2 separate regions of the Homo sapiens genome follow, and region 2 is linked to region 1. The links are contacts of gene promoters, found by promoter capture Hi-C in human tissues and cell types (Jung and others, 2019). All regions are on one chromosome and are shown on one strand. Each heading gives the region's core, a stretch centred on a gene start or on the middle of the fragment in contact. The rest is flanking DNA. Distances are from core to core; before and after follow the strand shown.

Region 1 (3,344 bases), core at 435-2,934:
GATGTGATTATTAAAGGTTAATTAAGCAAATACTTGTGAAGTAATTGGGAGGTAATCTATTTCTAATTTAACAGGTCAATCACGGGTATTTAGGAAATATTTTTGCTGGTTAACAACTCTAACCAAAACAAAAAGGTATTTAAATGGTTTCCCTAGTGAAAAACCATAAGCATGTGTTTCCTCTATTAAGTCAATTGTTTCAAAGAACTAGCATGAGAATTCCTAATTTCACCGTTTTGATGATTTAAGGTTTTATGAAGATTCTGAGCTCTTCCCTCCCGACGTTAATCCATGTCTTACATTGTTCATTTTGGCGCTTTAGAATAAAATATCTTTGGAAAGTAACTATGAGAAAGCACAGAGGGATATGTTAGTGAAATAGCCATTTTCTTGTGGGAAGCAAGACATTTCGGTTATCGACTACACAGAAGAGTGAATAAAACCCAACGCCTATCAACCACCAAACGTGACTCTGCTTGCATAATCATACAAATAAATTTTCTTTAAAAATTTTTCATGGGTGCAGTATATAAAATGATCAATAGTCTCATCAGCAGTGGAACTACAAACTGCTTTCTCCTAACTTTGTGTAGCCTGGGTGCTGCCTCACGATTACTAAGTGGTTTAAAATCATATCCCACTTGCTCCTTGGTTTATCAGCGAAAGACGTGATTCCCAGGTAGGAAAACGCCAAGTGTCCCGCAAAGGTACAGGTAAAACGTAGCAGTTACTGCGAGAAGACTGGCCCCGGGGAGTCCCAGGGCTCGGTCGGGGCCCCCGCACGAGCTGAGGAAGTGGACAGCGGGCACCTTTGTCTGTGCCTAGTTCCCTGGACCCGGGCCGAGCGATGCGGGTGGGGGCGCGGTTCGGGCGGGTCCCGGCGCTGCCCGGGGGAAGCGCGCGGCGACGGCGGCCCGGCTTGGGAGCCGGAGGTCAGCGGCTGCGCGGCCGGCCCCCTCCCACGGGAGCCGCGCCAGGGCCCAGCAAGAGTCGGGCGGGATCGCTATTGTTTTTGGCGAGCACATAAATCCCCGGGCCGACCCACTGCGCACCCAGGTTTCCTCCCGGAGGCCTTTCGGTTTCCTCTGAGGCCCTATATAGAGGCTCCAGGCCCGGACTGTGCAGAGGTGCGCGCCCACGCCGGCCTCCCGGACCAGCCTGAGCTCGGAGCGCCTCTCGCCCTCAGGTCTCTGCAGCCAGAGGCATCTGGGGAGGTGAGGGGGGAATTTGTCCCCGAGGCGAGGAGGAGGAGGCGGGGGCGCGCGGAGCCGAGGGGCTGCGGCGAGCGGGCGGGAGGAGCAGGAGGATCCGCTTCTCCGGGGTTTCCCTGACGCCAGCAGCAGCGCCCGGCGCGCGCGCCCCGCACCCGTCAGCGGCTCCGGGGAGAAGGGGGAGGGGAGCGGGCCCGCCACGGCCCGAGAGGCGGCAGCCGGGATTGGAGCGGGGGCGGGCCGCGCGCGGAGCCGAGGGGGTGCGGGCGAGGCGCGCGCGTGCGCGTGTGCGCGCCCGGGACTCCCGCCCCCCGCCCCCGCCCCCGCCCCCGCCGTCCGCGGTCTCCGCCCCCCTCGCGCTGGTGTGTGGAGCCGGAGTCGGCGGCGGGTGGCGGCGCCTGGAACCTGGAGACCGACCCACCGCCCCCCCCCCCCCGCCCCGGAATGTACTGACTCCCCTTCTTCGCTCTCCTCCCCTCCCCGCCCCCTTGCAGGAGGGAGGCGCCCTGGAGTCTCCCCTCCAGCGAGAGGGGCTGCGCGGGCCGGGCCGGGCCGGGCTGGGCTGGAGCAGCGGCGGCCGCGGGAGCCGAGCTTGCAGCGAGGGACCGGCTGAGGCGCGCGGGAGGGAAGGAGGCAAGGGCTCCGCGGCGCTGTCGCCGCCGCTGCCGCTCACTCTCGGGGAAGAGATGGCGGCGGAGCGGGGAGCCCGGCGACTCCTCAGCACCCCCTCCTTCTGGCTCTACTGCCTGCTGCTGCTCGGGCGCCGGGCGCCGGGCGCCGCGGCCGCCAGGAGCGGCTCCGCGCCGCAGTCCCCAGGTAAGCGGCGGGCGCGGGCCCGGGGGTTCGCGGGGGCGCGGCACCGGCTCAGGCGGCCGCGGCTGCGGTGTTTTTGTTTAGGATCCAGGAGGAAACGTGCAGGAACTTCTCTGCCTCGGCTCCGGTTGCCGAAGAGAAAGGGGATCGCGCGTGGTGGGGAGGAGAAGGGCGAGAGGGGGCGCCACCGGGGAAGGGGCGGCTGCCGGGGGGCAGGTCGGGGGCGCAGGGGTCTAGTTCCCAGCTTTGTACCTGGAGGCAGGTTCACCCCTCGCCTCTCTCCCCTCCCCCAGGCTCATCCCACTTGTAAGAGTGGGACATTCTTGTGCTCACACTAGCACCAGTAGAGGCCACTACACACCTCATTAAATAAACAATCAGACGGCCAATTCATTAATTTTCAGGAAAGGAAAGGGGAGGGGGCTTGAGCTCCTGGTTCCCTGGCCAGGGATTTCCCAGCTTCCGAAGTCTCGAGGAAGAGCTGGCTAGTCTCGAGGGACTCCTCGCGCGGGGATTGGAGCCCGAGTCTGCGGAAGAGCGGGGGTGTCAGAGGGGCACAATTGCCCGCTCACAACCCCTGGTGTTGATTTAACGATGAGGACGCCTTGGAGAGCGGCTCGGAGTGATCGTATCTGTTAGTGTTTCCGTTATGAAATGCCTCTTCTTTCCTGGGGATTACAACTATATTTACAGCCTATTAACCACTCTTAACCAAGGGAATTGTCTAAGCATCAGATTTTAGGTACTTGTACAATGTTTTCAGATGGCATTGTATAAACATTGAACCTCAAAAGCCATTTTCAGTTCTTTTTTGGAATATTATAGATTACTGAAACCACCTGCATTCCTATTAAGGGGACCAACGAACAAAAATGCCAAGCCTTCCGGGAAGGACCTTACGGTATTGTTGAGCAGGATACACTCAGCAGTTGAAAGGCAAATTAGCATGTAATCTGTTAAAATTATTTGACCAAGGTGGTGTACCATAAAACTTGACAAAACTTTCACTCGTGTGAGATATGATATTTTTACATTTGAAAGCAGTCTTACCGCTGAACCAGTACTTGTTTTTCCCTGATTTATATGAAATAATATTTAAAATCACACTGCAAGGTAACTTGACTGATAAACTTTTCATTTCCTTGCAGAGTGTGTATGTAGCTCATGGCTTTTGCCAATGTTAAAGAACAGCTTTAAACGTAAAGTACCACTCGGTATTCTCTAAACAGCTACGTAAACAATAGTGTTTTAATGTCAAATTAAACATCACTTATGTCATGATGTACCCTTATACATTCAGTCCGTATATGGTTTAGAACA
Region 2 (3,344 bases), core at 565-3,064, 780 kb before region 1:
CACACACTAGCACTCTCTATCTCCCTTCCCAGCTTTATTTTTTTCCACTTACCATGTTCTAACATATAAAATGTTTATCAGAATGTAACCTCTGGTGGCAGAGGCTTTGACTGCTTTCAGTCTACATTCTTAGTCCCTTAACACATTTCTTGAATGAGAGAATAAATGAATGAACCCTCTGCTGGATACTTAAGTCAAATGGGAGATATATACAATAACCTGCATGTTTCTACACATAGACAAAAATCACACAAAAAAATGATTTTAAAAAGCAAAACTTCACCTTCAAGAGCAGCTGAGATCCAGAATGTGAAGATCTTGGGGTGAGGTTCGTGAGATTTGAAAATAAACAGTCAAGTGCTGATCTGGATGATCACAGAGGAATAAAGAGGGAGGCACTAAATGTCCAGCCTGGGTTGCCCTGGGGTGAGGGGTAGGATGACGGCAGCGTTAGGCCAGAAGTGCCAACTTTTCACGGTCTTTGTTGCTGCAGAAGTCAAGAAAAATTTAGCCTCTTTCCAAGGGCTGTTGCTGCTTGGTTTCTGTTGCTATCACAAGGAGAAAAAGGTATTTCAGAGGGAGTTTTTCTTGTTCAAGCAAGAGACAGTTCAGAGATTACCGGCTTTTTCAAACCAGGCTGCTTTAGTGAAAGGGACTTGCTTCCTCTACTCTCAATGCCCTTTCCTCTGGAGAGATGGAAAGTGGATTTAAAAGGTGAAGAGTTGGAAAAGGAAGGTGGTGGGTTATGGAATTCACAGGATCACAAACACTTTTTAAAAAATTAGCCGGAAACGTGGCCTAATTCAAAGCTTTCATGTTACACACAGAATACTTAGACCTACAGAGGTCGACCAATTTGCTTAAGGTTAGGAGTACAGAAGGACTGGGATGTAAAGACATTGGACAGGTCCTAATTACATCTAATCTTCATGTGATGTGGTTATAATTAATTGAGTTGTTAATGAAGTAAGCAAGAAAGACCTATCTGATTTATCTAAATGAGGTAAAGAATGGGCCCTTTCAAAAGAAGTTGGGCCAAAAATAGACTATATGATGAGTGTCCAGAGAAGGTGTTAAAACTCAGCGGCTAATATAGAACGCTTTATGAGTTTCCACGAGAATAAGTCAAATGTAAATGAGCCTCAAGTCTGGATCACAAAGGTCTTTCCCTAGGTCCATGGGCGCTTCTCTAGGTGTGACAACTTCACGTCTAGTCAAAGCAGCTTCAGAGCTCAATGTTTAAATTGTGGGTTGGGCTCCCGGCTTTGTGGTCCTGGAGGAGGTTACTCCACTCCATCCCGTGTGCTCCCTTCTCAGGAGTAGGCCACTAAACAAAGACTACTAGGAAGAATCACTGAGGGGCGACTCCCGCAGGTTAGCGCTATCTCGGGCACCCCGCAGGGAGAGAGGACACGGCTGCCCCGCGAAAACACTCTCTGGCACCCGTGCTTCCAGGACAGGCCCTGAGGCCTCTCCCGGGGAAGCAGTTACACCTGTTCTCCGGGGCTCCCCTGAAGACCCCAAAAACACCCAACACCTGCCTCCCCAGGAAAGACGCTCTGGGCCCGATCTATGCCGCCCGGCCGCCGGGCCTGAGTGAAGCCTGTCCAGCCTAGGAGGGGCCCTCAGAACCTCCCGGTCCAAGCCTCTCACTTCGTCCACCCCTGCGGAGACGGGGCGAGCCCCGCACCCTTCCCGTGGCCCGGCCGCACCGCCCTGTGCCCGTGGTGGCGGCCACACAGGCCAGCCTGGCGAGTACTCACGGCGACCCCGGGCCGCGCGCGGCCGCAGCCGACGGGACGAGCGGCCCGGGACGCCCCGCGGGGGCGGAGCGGCAGGCCAAGGGGCGGGGGCCGGGCCTGGCGGGCGAGGTCGCGCACCCCACGCCTCGTCGTTCCGTCACGGGCGCGCTCAGCCACTCTGCGCACGCTCGCGCGGTGACACGATGGCACGTGGCCCGCTCCTGACCAACAGCCTGACGGCCTGCTCCTGGGCGCGCCTCAGCAGCCGACGCCAGCCTTGAGACGCCTGCGCGGCGGTCGCTAGTCGGGAAAGGGTGCGGAGTGGGGGGTGGCGCCTGCGCCGTGGGTAGGGGAGGCAGTGGAGAAGGAAGAGGGACTCTGGGGGAGTGCGGGGAGCCTTCCAAAGGAGAATACTTGCATTTAGCGCCCCGAGTGGTTGGGAGGAACAAGCAGGAAGGGCAACCCAGGTTGCCTGTAGGCCGGGAGGGAGTCCCCTCGCCGGAGGTTGGGGCCGGCAGGTAGAGACTGAGGGAAGTCCTGAGGCCTTGCTGACTGCAGGATTCTCTGGTTCGACAATGGAAGTCGAACACCTCGGGCTTTTAAAAATTCTGGCATTTAACTCATTTGTTCCCCGGTAGCTGCAGCGTGATGGAGAGCACCCTGGCCTTCTAGTCAATCTGGGTCTGAAGCTTGGGTTCGGCACTTATTGATGGTGCAGCCTTAAGCGATGACTTTCACTTTGTGAATCTGATTTCTCCTCTTTGAGGTGGAGACAGTAATATGTGTTTCACGGAGCCGTTGTGGTGAGGATGAACTGAGATAGTGTTAGGTTGAACCGTAGGAAATTGCTATTTTTGCAGTTTATAAACAGTCAGATACCTTCAATTTCATACGATTCCAACTAATCCATGTAAAGTAACCAGCAGAGTACTTGGGACTAGGAAGTAGTTCATACATGGAAGCTGTAATTGTGGTTATTGTGGTTATTAACCCTAGACATGGCCAGATCTCCTTCATCCTTATTAGTCTTGGGGCTTCCACGTGACCCTCTTTTCCATCAACACTAATGGGAAAAGGCTTATCTTAGACCTACTCTGTTTCCTCACTCCCTCTTTGTAGCTGGACACAGTACACACAAAGAAGGCTTTGGCCCTGAATGATATAAACACGTCATGTCTATCCCTCCTAAGCTGGCCTCAGAAGTTTCCCAGTTAACTTTTTGTTGTTGGTTGATTTACATTTGCACATTCTCAGCCTCTCCTTTCTAACTCCTTCCCCTTTTGATGTCCCCCTCTGCTCACCTTGCCACTCAGCCTGGGCCACAACACCGTCTCGGTGTGAGTTTGTTACATCTACTGCTTATAGTAACTGAAAAAAGTGAGGGATCAATATAACCTCGGTTTCAGAGTGCGGAAGTTCAGAGTGGTAGGGGAAGGAGTCAGGCCTGCTCTCTAAAACAACTCACCATCAAGGGCCCCGTAATAGCTTTTGAGAACCAAGTATGTATGGGAGTGTTTGAACATAAGCACTGTGCCCATGAGTGACAAGTCCAACTCCAGTATTCAATAACCTTTAGGATTCCCCCTTTCCAGCATACCACCA

What was found. Contacts are between HindIII fragments. The study calls those that stand out against the background at their distance.
Region 2: the fragment with the promoter of PARP6 here is called in contact with the fragment with the promoter of NEO1 in region 1 in 1 of the 25 tissues and cell types used here (hippocampus).

What each region holds. Positions count from the first base shown.
Region 1 is chr15:73,050,779-73,054,122 of GRCh38, forward strand. NEO1 (neogenin 1) reads left to right here and starts at 1,685. Exons shown (of 29, transcript NM_002499.4): 1 at 1,685-2,027. The coding sequence starts at 1,898. RefSeq lists silencers at 805-854, 915-984, 1,075-1,394, 1,625-2,004. The HindIII fragment of the contact is 9,189 bases long and covers 1-3,344 here.
Region 2 is chr15:72,270,740-72,274,083 of GRCh38, forward strand. PARP6 (poly(ADP-ribose) polymerase family member 6) reads right to left here and starts at 1,815. Exons shown (of 24, transcript NM_001323532.2): 1 at 1,654-1,815; 2 at 284-548. RefSeq lists a silencer at 1,558-1,977 and enhancers at 2,118-2,167, 2,228-2,317. The HindIII fragment of the contact is 3,446 bases long and covers 1-3,006 here.